Linked DNA regions of Homo sapiens: region 1 is linked to region 2. Evidence: promoter capture Hi-C in human tissues and cell types (Jung and others, 2019). All regions are on one chromosome and are shown on one strand. The core of a region is centred on a gene start or on the middle of the fragment in contact, and the rest is flanking DNA. Distances in the headings are between cores, read along the strand shown.

The links. Contacts are between HindIII fragments. The study calls those that stand out against the background at their distance.
Region 1: a contact is called between the fragment with the promoter of FHAD1 here and the fragment with the promoter of CTRC in region 2, in 1 of the 25 tissues and cell types used here (adrenal gland).

What each region holds. Positions count from the first base shown.
Region 1 is chr1:15,244,093-15,250,469 of GRCh38, forward strand. It overlaps FHAD1 (forkhead associated phosphopeptide binding domain 1), which reads left to right and starts at 3,131. Exons shown (of 34, transcript NM_001391957.1): 1 at 3,131-3,303. RefSeq lists silencers at 2,966-3,139, 3,157-3,396. The HindIII fragment of the contact is 8,594 bases long and covers 447-6,377 here.
Region 2 is chr1:15,434,224-15,440,634 of GRCh38, forward strand. CTRC (chymotrypsin C) reads left to right here and starts at 4,220. Exons shown (of 8, transcript NM_007272.3): 1 at 4,220-4,281; 2 at 6,077-6,168; 3 at 6,270-6,367. The coding sequence starts at 4,242. The HindIII fragment of the contact is 5,601 bases long and covers 1,657-6,411 here.

The DNA of each region.
Region 1 (6,377 bases), core at 1,881-4,380, 190 kb before region 2:
GTTTAATTGCAATGTACAACTCTCTTACTCAGCCCAGGAAATTATATCATAAAACCCTAAGTTATTGGGTATTTGATTTTCTGTTTTTGAAATGAAAATGGATGATACGGAATTGGGTTTCAAGAACTTTGCACACCCTTGAGATAACAGTGGCATCCTGAGGGACAGAGGATCCAATTAAGATTTGGCAACTTCGGCTCCACTGATTCTGAGTGTCAGCTTTGCTCTCAGTTTAGGATTTTTTGTTTTTCATTGAGATATCAGCTAACAGCAACAGATGATCTCTCAAAGCCTGGTGAGGGGCATGGGCTGTTCCAGCTCATGGCCAGCCTGGGTTTCACTGGGGTCTGTCTGATAGCAAGTTTGTGTCCTGGGTTCATGTTAATGACAAGAGTTTGACCAAAGACAAGCATGGAGGGGTGGTGGTAGGGATGGAGGTGGTGTTCAGGCCTGGGCAGGGGACTAGAGAAGCCGACATCCTGGGGCGAGGACAGGTCAGCCCAGCAGTCCTCAGAGGACAGGAGGCCGGGCTTCAGAAGGGTGGCAGGGGCTTCCCCCTGCATATTTATTCATTCAGACATTGTTCTAGGGACTGGTGGCACAGCAGCAAACAAAACATGAAAAAAGAAATTCCTGCTTTCATGGAGTTTAGATTCTACCAGGGGTCAGGGAGGGAGACACAATAAATAACATAAATAAATAAAGAAATAGTATGTGAGTTGATGATAAGTGATGTATTAGTCCATTTGTGTTGCTATCAAGTAATACCTGAGGCTGTGTCATTTATCCAGAAAAGAGGTTTATTTGGCTCACAGTTCTGCAGGTTGTACAAGAAGCATGGTGCCAGCATCTGCCTCTGGTGAGGGTCTCAGGCTGCTTCCACTCCTGGCAGAAAGTAGCGCCTGCATGTGCAGAGATCACATGATGAGAGAGGAAGTGAGAGTGAGCGAGGGGGAGGTGCCAGGCTCTTTCTAACAATCAGCTCTTTAGGAAACTGATAGAGTGAGAACTCATGCACCCTACAGGAACAGCACCAAGCCATCCATGAGGGATTCGCCCGCATGATCCAAGCACCTCCCGCCAGGCCCCACCTCCAACACTGAGGAGCAAATTTCAACATGAGATTTGGAGGGGTCAAATATTCTAACTATAGCAAGTGGCAAAAAGAAGGGAAGAGGGATAGAGTGTTGAGGTTTTTATTTTGTTTGGATGTGCTTTTGTTGTTCTTATTTTTATTTGCTTTTGTTGTTCTTATTTTTATTTGCTTTTGCTGTTCTTATTGTTTTTATTTGCTCTTTTTTGTTGTTTATTAGATTTCATGGTGGTTGTTTCATTGTTTCAAAAAACCAATTTTAGAAAAGATGATATGTGAGTAAAAAGCTAAAGTAAAGAAGGCAAAGGAGACTCTTGAGGGGAAGTGCATTCCAGGCAGAGGAATGGGCAAGAGCAAAGGCTCTGAGGCAGAAACGTGTGGGAAGCTGAGCTTGACCCTCTCTGTTCCTGTGAAGCCATCACTTGGGTCCCAGCCCTTGTGGTCCCTCCTAACATTTTACGCCTAGAATCTTTCTGGTTGTAGGAAACTGATCCAGGCAGAACCTTCCAGACTGAGGGCCTGGAAGAGATTTGTAGGGACAGGCTCCGGGAGAGGTCTCTGCAGTTCAGCTGCATAAATCAGGGTTTTGTCAAGCTTGTTGCAAATGCACATTCCTGGATTATGTCCCAGGCCTGCTAAATCAGAATCTCTGGGGTCTGTGCCCAGAAGTCCGCATTTCTAAAAGCCTCCAGGCACGTTTGAGCATCTTCACTGTATATTCCACCACAAATCGATGTCCATGATTTCTCTCTCAGATCCTCTTCCTATTGACTAGGTGTATTAGTCTGTTCTCACACTGCTATAAAGTAATTCCTTGAGACTGAATAATTTACAAAGAAAAGAAGTTTAATTGACTCACAGTTCTGCACTGCTAGGGAGGCCTCAGGAAACTTACAGTTATGGCGGAAGGCCAAGGGGAAGCAAGGAAGCTAGCATGTTGTAACATGGTGTAGCAGGAGAGAGAGAGAGCAAAGGGGGAAGTGCCACACTTTTAAACCATCAGATCTCATGAGAACTCACTCGCTATCATGAGAAAAGCAAGCGGGAAGTCTGCCCCCATGATTCAATCACCTCCCACCAGGCCCCTCTTCCAACACGTGGGGAGTGCAATTCGAGATGAAATTTGGGTGGGGACACACAGCCAAACCGTATCACTAGGGTAGAATGTGCCATAGTTCATCTCTCTTAGAAAAACGTTTAGAGTTTTTCTTGAGGTGTCTGGTCAGCCATTTCCTGCCAGTGAAAGGAATCACTCTCCAGGTAGAGTCAGCAGGAGATAGGATTTCCTGCTGGAGATAGTGGCGGGAGATAGGATTTGCACATCTGCTCAACACACTCCATCCCGCGAGTCCTGTGCCGGCTGACAAGCGGTTTCTTAAGGACAGTAACTGTTCCAGGTGTATTCTGGGATCAGCGTGTGACACTCATAGGACTCAAAAGATGTTTGCAGAGATAGAGAAAGGGCAAAAGAATGAATAAATGTCACTCTTAACAGGGAGGAGCAGAGGCAGCAGGATTGTGAGTTTGGAAATATTTTTTCCCCAGCACATGGAAGAAATCCTCATTCTTTCAAAATTTTTCATTCCACCCCATCCCTTTCCCAATCCCCACCCCACTCCCAGAGATCCCCTCTTCTTACTCTTTCTATTTTCTGGCCTGTAACGGAAAGGACTAGAGATTTGGGTAGGGCAGGGGGCATACTAACCTCCAAGGGTCTCATGAGTTCAGCTCCATCAATCTCCTACCTCTCCCTATCGCCCCCGACCCTCCCTCAACGCATCCAGCTTACAGTGAGGGGTAATGGAAAGGATTCTTGAATCAAATCTCCTCCCTGCTCCTTCCTCGCTGTAAAACCTTGGGCCATTTCTGTGACCTCTGAGCCTCCGCTTTCCTATCTGTGAAATGGGGCAGGCTCGTGGGGCCTGGAGCATTCAGCAGGCGGTAACCCAGTGGGCGTTCCCTGCACGGTGCCACGCCCCCTCTGCCGCGCAGGCCACGCCCTCATCTATTAGGCTGGACCCCGCGGCGCCTGGCGGCGTTGCCATGGCAACGCGCGTACACAGGCCGGCCGGGCGGGCGGGGTGCCGGGTGCGAGCTGGAGACTCCGCGGGAGCGCGGCCGGGAGGCTTCGCCCCGGAGCTGGCCCGACGCCTCCCGAGCTGGCAGGGCTCTCGGCGGAGGTCGGAGCGTGGGCTTCCTCCTCCCGCCAGGTGAGTGCGGCGCGGGAAGGGGTGGCGGGCCGAGACCGGGGACCGGAAGGGGCGGCCCAGCGAGGACTAGCCCTGGCAGGAGGAGGGGTGGCTCCCCGGCCCCATCCTCCTGGATCCAGGCTCCGGTCCCCAGGAGCACCCCAGTAGCTACCCCAACACCAGCCCCTCCTTTCCAGATGCAGGCCCCACCCCGCCCGCGGAGGAAGCCCCCGGGAGCCTTAGACCCTCCTTGGCACCAGCCATGCCACTCTGGGAAGTCCTGGGGGTTACAGCTGGGATTAGGAGGGGCATCCCTGCTGCCCCTGACTTACGAACGACACCCACCCGGCGGTCAGAGAGACTCCCCCCTTGCCTAACCTCTCCCTTCCCAAATACAACACTGAGGAATTTCTAGGGCTCCCAGGCCACTTAAGATCTGGTAACCCCTCAACAGAAATTTTGCTTCTCTATCTCACTTGTGACCTATAAGCAGGGAGTGCAGATGCCTGAAGCTCTTTTGCTCTTTTGCATGGTCGGTGCCCTGTGTCTTAGAACTAATTTACAGAGTTTAACGCATCTAATCACTTTCTACAGTGTTTTCAGGTAGGAAAGTGACTGCACAGGGCAAGATTAAAGTGGGGAAATAGGGCCCAACCCATTCAGCTAAAGAAATAGACTTTTTTTTTTTTTTCCAGAATGTCATCTAGGATAAATACTGAAGGGGAAAATGAAAGGTAGTTACTGTCAGAGGTTCTTAGGCTACCCTGACTTACTTTTAAGCATTGTTTTGTACTTTCATTCATTCATGATTTACTGAGCACCACTATGTGTCAGGCATGGCAGCGCTGGGGGCCAGAGGGGAGTAATGAACAGACTGTGAGGAAATGCAAAGGGTCTGAGATTTTTACACTACTTGCAAGCTAAGTTAGCCTGCCACTGCTTAATGATGCTAGCAGAAGACCAGAGACTCCAGGACCAGAGACAAAGGATGTTATTACTCACAGCACAGCAGGCACTGTGAGCTCATGTTTGCGTTGGTTCCCCTTGCCCTGCAAGTACCCCGGGGTGATGCAGGACAGCTCAGGTGGATGCTGTGCACACTGCGAGTCTGTTTCCCAGCTAAGGAACCCCAAGCTCAGGAAACTCCAGTCTTTTAAAAGGGGCTGCTAGCCAGTGCCCAACCTTTGCCCTGGAAGGAGATGACCTTTTTTTTTTTTTTTTAATTGAGACAGAGTCTTGCTCTGTCTCCCAAGCTAGATAGAGTGCAGTGGCACAATCTCAGCTCACTGCAACCTCTGCTGCACGGTTTCAAGTGATTCTCCTGCCTCAGACTTCCGATTAGCTGGGACTACAGGTGCAAGCCACCATGCCCGGCTAATTTTTTTGTGTTTTTAGTAGAGACAGGGTTTCGCCATGTTGGCCAGGCTGGTCTCAAACTCCTGACCTCAGGTGATCCGTCCACCTGGGCCTCCCAAAGTGCTAGGATTACAGGCATGAGCCACCGTGCCCAGCCAGAGATGACATTTTTATCATAAATCTGCACTCTGCCCTGGATAGGGACACTATCCCTATCCTCTCAGGATATTTGCCCTACAGATGTCCTTGGAAGATTGTCTGGAACAAAATCTGTCAGTGTCTTTGCTCTGAAGATGGGTACAAACACAGGAAACCCATGGAGAATTGAGTTTAACAAAAACAACACAGTTTGGGCTCTCTTGGAACGTATCTCAGTGAAAGGGAAACAGTAAACAGCTAAGTAAAGAACAAGAAAATGACAGAGAATGATAAGCTCAAGGAAGGAGCCACAGCAGTGACACATGCTAGCTAGACAACAAAGTGACTGGTGACGCCTTTAGCTGGGGTGGTCAGGTAGCTACCGCAAGGCACCAGCTGTGGAAACATCGGGGGGAAGAGCTAAAAAAAAAAAAAAAGCCAGTCATTCAGATTTGGGGTTTTACTCTGGAGGCATTTCCTGTGGCTTTCCCACAAAAGAGACATTTCTCGAAAGTTGACTTTAGATTACTTTTACTTTAGTTTGGATGTGGTGCTTGATGATGTAGTCCTCTGCAATTGAAGATTAATAACTCAGGCAATTTGAGGGCAACAGGGCATGGTTCTTTTGGAAAAAGAAGTGTCTTTTTATCCCTATTAAAGACAGCAGACTTAAAAATAAAATTCTCATTATATGAAAGTATTAATATTTCTGAGGATTTCTCATAGGCTTCGGAATTTACAAACATAAACTATCTGGCTTGTTTTTATTTCTCTTACTCCCAAGGGTCTTTTCTTTTTTTGCAGAGGATAGAATTCTGGTGTTAAGGGCTATCTGTTATTTCATGTCCTAAGTGTCAACAAAACAGTGACAACCCCACTATCCCAAGTGACAACCTCTCCCTCCCCCCACTCAGTCACTCTCTCTGCTCCCCCATCCCATCCCCTCCCCACCCAGCAGTGATGGAGGTGTGAAAAGTTGAGCTGCCTGAGGATTATGTAGTGGTGACATGCAATGGCAATCTCCCTGCCCGAATGCTAGGGGACCTTAACCTCTCTGCATCTCAGTCTCCTTTTCTGTAAAGTAGGGACAATAATGACACCCACCTTGCAGGGTTTCTCTGAGGATGAAAAGAGTATATTCAAGGAAAAGTGCCTGGCACTTACTAAGGACTCCATAAATGATGATAGAGATGATGATGAAAAGCAGAGCCAGCCCCGAGAGTCCGTACCACCACAACTAGTTGATTTTTGTTTTTACCCATAGTCCAATAATTTGTCATTTCACTGACTTTTCAATTGAATGGAAAAGAGAGAGACTGTTGTTGTTCTTTGACAAGGAATTGAGGTGGAGGATATCACACTGCATCTTTAGACGTAATCTCAAATCGGATTCAAGCATCGAGATGAATTACTGTCAATATTTTAGAACTTTCTGAAGTCACTGAAGTGTTTGTCTTAAAAGATGTGTATAGAACTTATTTCGAAATGCACCACAATATAAAATGGATGGACACACGGATAGATGGAAAGATCTGTGATAAAGCAAATATGGCAAAATGCCGATGGTAGAATCTAGTGGTGGGTACATAGGAGCTCATTAT
Region 2 (6,411 bases), core at 2,970-5,469:
ACCCAGGTAATTTTTTAAATTCTTTTAGAGTCAGGGGTCTCGCCATGTTGCCCAGGCTGGTCTTGAACTCTTGGCCTCAAGGGATCCTCTCACCTCAGCCTCCTGAGTAGCTGGGATTACAGGCACGAGCCACCATGCCCAGCCAGTTTTTAATATTTTTTAAATGGAGAAAGGGGCCCATGAAGGCAAAAGTACTCAGTGACCAAGTCCAGTCTCAAGCTTTCTCATAAGAACCAGATAACAACAATAATAATAGTAATAGCAAACATTTAGACCGTCCTTGCCATATGCCAGGCACTTCTTCCAACAGCCCTAGGAGGGAGGTACCATTTTCTTTCTTTTTCTTTTTATTTTTTTGAGACGGAGTCTTGCTCAGTCACCCAGGCTGGAGTGCAATGGCACGACCTCGGCTCACTGCAACCTCCGCCTCCCGGGTTCAGGCAATTCTCCTGCCTCAGCCTCCCGAGTAGCTGGGATTATAGGCACCCACCATCATGCCCGGCTAATTTTTGTATTTTTGTACAGACAGGGTTTCACCATGTTGGCCAGGCTGGTCTTGAACTCCCGACCTCAGGTGATCTGCCCACCTCAGCCTCCCAGAGTGCTGGGATTACAGGCATGAGCCACCGTGCCCGGCCAAAGGTACCGTTTTCACTCTCACTTTATAAACGAGGAAGCACAGAGAGGTTGCGTCACAAGCATAAGGCCATAGAGCTATGAAGCAATAGTGGTGGGTTTAGTTCAACCCTAAGCAAAGCACTCAACATCCTGTCTTCAGCATCTGAAACAGATTAAGGGCGACCTCGGTTTTCTCCAGGGACAATTGTTTGGTGCTGCCTTACATAAAAGGTCCCTCCCTGTAGATGTCTCAAAACAAGCAAGTTTCCCTATAGCTGAGCAGCCAGCAACCTCCCTCCAAAAAGGTCAGTTTCTCTGTGAACCTTCAAAGAGCTGACAATAACTCTCTTCACCTGGGACCTCATCATCAATCCATTTGGCTATTTCTATGTTTGTGTACATGTTTGAATGGGTGGCCCATGGCTCTGCTTGGCTCTACACATAACCGAATGCTTTATATGTATTATATCATTGGTGTGTGCATATTTGTGGACGTGGAGGAGCGTGTGTGTGCATGTGTGTGTGTGCGTGTGTGCATGTGTGCATATGTGTGTGTATGTTTGTGTGTGCATGTGTGCGCGTGGGTGTGTGCATTGTGTGCATGTGTGTGTGCGTGTGTGTCCATGTGTTTGTGTGCGTGTGTGCATGTGTGCATGTGTGTGCATGTGTGTGTGCATGTGTGTGTGCGTGTGTGTGTATGTGCGTGTGTGCGTCGCCTGTCCACGTATACTTGTGAATCCATGGGCATGTATACACAGCTGAGATGCGTGCTAACAAGTTGCTGTATCTCTGAGTATAAATTGATGAGCTCCTACAAGGAGACGCCCAGTTAATTCATTTTCCCAAGTTGATCAAGGGACATGAGAGAAACTGAGGCTCAAAGAGGTTGCTCAGGGTCTGGGTCATCCATTCTGTCACTGAGATGGAAACCAGGTGTCCTGTCTCCCCGCTTCAGACCCTGCTAATTTCCAAGACCTATCACCTAGCTCAAGCCATATCTCTGCTTATGTTCCCAGTTTCCAGGCTAGAATGACCCTTTGCAAGGCTTGGCAACCAAAAGCCCTGGGTCTGAAGCAGACTGGCCAGTAGCCACTGATAAACCTGTATCATGCACAACCAACCTCCAAAATGAAACAGAAAATTCCCCGCAGGCTGAAGTCCCCAGACACCCCAGGACTGAGGCCTTGATGTCACCATAGCTGAGCAGAGCCCCCAGTGCACATTCCCACTTTTATCTTTCTTAAAAAATTAAACCTATTGATTTTTATACTACCAAGGTAACTATGTTTGTTTTAAAAAAGAATTTAAGCTGCATAAAAATGTGTAGTTAGAGGCCAGGCATGGTGGCTCACACCTGTAATCCTAGCACTTTGGGAGGCCTATGTGAGTGGATCACTTGAGGTCAGGAGTTCGAGACCAGCCTGGCCAACGTGGTGAAACCCCGTCTCTACAAAAGGAACAAAAATTAGCCAGTGGCACTGGTCCCGGCTACTCAGGAGACTAAGTAAGGTAGGAGAATTGCTTGAACCTGGGAGGCAGAGGTTGCAGTGAGCCAAGATCGCACCACTGCACTCCAGCCTGGGCGACAGAGCGAGACTCCAACTCCATCTCAAAAAATAAATAAATAAATAAACAAACCAGCCTGGCCAACATGGTGAAATCCGGTCTCCACTAAAAATACAAAAATTAGCCGGGCATGGTGGTGGACATCTATAATCCCAGCTACTCGCGAGGCTGAGGAAGCAGAATTGCTTGAACCCAGGGGTGGAGGTTGCAGTGAGCTGAGATCGCACCACTGCACTCCAGCCTGGGCCACAGAGCAAGACTCTCAAAAAAAAAAAGTGTAAGTTAGAATCCTCCTTCACCCCCAGATCACCGCTATGAATGGCGGGGTGCGTAGTGCTCTGAACTTTTCTATCAGGAAGGAATTCCTAAGGTGGCCAGTAGGCCCAGCTCAGAAAATGACCTTCAAGGGGAGCTCAGTATGAGTAGAGGGGAAACGAAAGACAGAATCTAACCAACCAGGCTGAGGCCAGGCCTTGGGGCGAATGGATCAAACCACATGTTCCAAGGGATGGCCAACCCCGAATGCCGGAGGCTCTGGTAGAATTTCTGCTACTCAGTGCTTTGGGCCCTCAGATCTGCCACTGACCTTGACATTCAAGTTACAGAATTGTAGAACTGAAAGGAGCCTGAAAGTCCATCTGGTCCTTTTGCCCATTTTAGAGATGGGGAAACTGAGGACCTACAACTAAGCTGACTCCAGGAAGGAATCTGGCCAACTAAGCACCTTCCAGAGCCTGCTGCATCCCTGCCTCCAACCACAGCCCTGGAGGCAGGTGCAGGAGTGCATCAAGCCCAGGCAATTAGAAAGATGAGACAGAGAGAGAGCCAGGAAGCGATCCAATAGCACTAGAAAGGCAGAGAAGGAGCAGCATGTCTCCACAGCTTGAAGCCCCAGGCTGGTGTTAGAAGCTTTGGCTTCAAAGTCTGGCTCTGCTGCTGCCCAGCCGTGTGACCCTAGATGGTCACTTACCCGCTGAGTCTCAGCTTCCTCACTTTTATTTTATTTTTTTAGAGACAAGGTCTTGTTCTGTCACCCGCGCTGGAATGCAGTGTGGCACGATCACGGCTCACTGCAGCCTCGAACTCCTGGGCTCAAGCGATCCTCCTACCTTGGCCTCAGGAGTAGCTGGGACTACAGGCATGCACCACTGCGCCTGGTCCTTTCTCATCTCACCTCAGAGCAGATAACCGCGTCTATTTCATGTTGTTGGAAGAATTAAGTGAGATAATGCAAGAAGAATTGAGCGCAATGCCTGACACACAGTAGGTGCCCAATAAATAACTAAAAAGAATAAGGTAACGGCCTGTAATCACACCTGTAATCCTAGCACTTTGGGAGGCTGAGGTAGGCAGATTGCCTAAGCTCAGGAGTTCAAGACCACCCTAGGCAACAGGGTGAAACCCTGTCTCTACTAAAATACAAAAAAAAAAAAAAAAAAAAAATGGTGGCACACATCTGTAGTCCCAGCTACTTGGGAGGCTGAGACAGGAGAATCGCTTGAACTCGGGAGGCGGAGGTTGTAGTGAGCTGAGACTCCAGCCTGGGTGACAGAGCAAGATCCTGTCTCAAAAAAATAAATAAAATACAAAAGATTAACCTGGCGTGGTGGCAGGCGCCTGTAGTCCCAGCTACACAGGGGGCTAAGGCACGAGAATCGTTTGAGCCCGGGAGGTGGAGGTTGCAGTGAGCTGAGACTGTGCCACTGCATTTCAGCCTGGGCAACAGAGCAAGACTCCATCTCCAAATAAATAAATAAATAGTATAAGGTAGGGAGAGAGAATGAACACACACGTCAAACAGAGTGGGGTGGGGGATGCCAAAAAGCACTGCAACTCAGAATTTTCTGTTTCAGGATATTTGGAAAATCCATACTTCTAAGAAAGCCCTGTCTCCTGCCCAAATTAAACAGTAACCACCCAAGGTCAGGGAAAGGGCCTTATCAGAGCAGGTTTCTCTCCAAGGGGCGGTTTGGCCTTGACCAGGTGCACTCACCTGCTCCTGCCTATAAGTGTGCCCCAGCCCATCCCGATGGTCAGCCAGTCCTGAGCACCTAACCATGTTGGGCATCACTGTCCTCGCTGCGCTCTTGGCCTGTGGTAAGCGGTGGGGTGGGGCTGCAGCTAGCAGGCTGTGAGCTCGGGCTGGCCTCCAGGGCAAGGACGGGATGGGGAGTGGGGGGGCCTCTGCTCTCCAGGTAAGACACTTTGGGGTCCCCTGTGGGTTCAGATGCTACCAACCAGCTGTGTGTCAGACAAGCCACAGCCTGCCTGCCAACTCTGTTTCCACATCTGCAAAACAGGGAAGATGATCTGACGTGTCCCCAGTTAGAAATGAGGTGTGGAAAGCACCACGCAAGGGGGAGGGACACGAGATGCCTCATCCTGGGTTCACCCCAGGGACCATCGGGGTCTGCCTTTCCCAGCATTCTCTCTCCCTTGAGGATTCTCCATTCCATCATTTTGGTGGCGTTTTCCCAGATTAGGAGCCCAGGGACTTAGCTTAAATGCCACTTCTTCTCTGCAGGACCTGGAAAAGTCATTTCACCTCTCTAAATCTCACTAACTTTTTTGGCAAAGGAGAGCACTTAATGAAGAGTCCTTCCAGCTAACAACAACAACAGTAATAATAGCAGCTCCTGTTTCCTGTGTGTTTACTATGTGCCAGACGCTATGCTAGGCCCCTTACATGTAGGAGCCAATTTAATCCTCAAAACAACCTTAAGAGGTAGGGTCTATTGCCAGGCATGGTGGCTCACGCCTGTAATCCCAGCACTTTGGGAGGCCGAGGTGGGTGGATCACTTGAGATCAGGAGTTTGAGACCAGTCTGGCCAACAAGATGAAACCCCGTTTCTACTAAAAATACAAAAATTAGCCAGGCGTGGTGGCGGGCACCTGTAATCCCAACTACTCAGAAGGCTGAGGCAGGAGAATTGCTTGAACCCAGGAGGAGGTTGCAGTGAGCCGAGATCGCGCCATCAAACTCCAGCCTGGGCAACAAGAGTGAAACTCCGTCTCAAAAAAAAAAAAAAAAGAAAAAGAAAGAAAAAGAGGTAGGGTCTTTTCATAGCCCCATTTTACAGATGAGGACATCGAGGTTCCGTGCGACTTAGTATCTTGCCTGACATCACATGGCAGGTTAGTGGAAGAGGCAGAATTTGAGTCCACGTCTGTCTCGCGGAACAGCACGTGTTCTTGACCGCTCCACACAGCTTCCCAGCTATAACAGTGGATTTACTGCTCTCTCACACACACACCATGATGCAGGGGCCTAAAAACAGACAGAAGAACACAGGTGTACCGGGCACTCGCACACATGCCAGCCAGTTTTGTTTTGTTTTGTTTTGTTTTTTGAGATGGAGTTTTGCTCTTATCACCCAGGATGGAGTGCAATGGCACGATCTCGGCTCACTGCAACCTCCATCTCCCAGGCTCAAGCGATTCTCCTGCCTCAGCCTCCTGAGTGGCTGGGATTACAGGCATGCACCACCACGCCTGGCTAATTTCTGTATTTTTAGTAGAGACAGGGTTTCGCCATGTTGGCCAGGCTGGTGTCAAACCCCTGATCTCAAGCGATCCACCCGCCTTGGCCACCCAAAGTGCTGGGATTACAGGTGTGAGCCACCGTGCCCGGCCAAACGCTTTCTTTTTTATGTGTTGTCTAATTCAGTTCTCAGGGCAAACTCACCGCATTAGTGTGATTCTTCACATTTCACAGAAAGGGAAAACAAGGCCTAGAGACCTGGGTGGCTTACCCCCGTGACACAGTAAAATATCAACCCCGTGTCTGCCCAGCCCCAACTCTGTGCTTCTTCCACCTGCCCACCCTCCCACCCCTTTCCCCGTGGGCTACCAGCCCTATTCACTGGTTCTTCTGGCCTCCTGTCTCCCCAGCCTCCAGCTGTGGGGTGCCCAGCTTCCCGCCCAACCTATCCGCCCGAGTGGTGGGAGGAGAGGATGCCCGGCCCCACAGCTGGCCCTGGCAGGTAAGCCTGTGTAGGGCTGGGAGGTACAGATAGAGAGGGTGGCGGGGTGAGGGTCCCAGGGACCTGCAGGCTGACACACAGCCCTCCCCACCCTCCTGCAGATCTCCCTCCAGTACCTCAAGAACGACACGTGGAGGCATACGTGTGGCGGGACTTTGATTGCTAGCAACTTCGTCCTCACTGCCGCCCACTGCATCAGGTGTGCGGGGATGATACCCTGAGACCTGGCCATCGTCCGGGGGC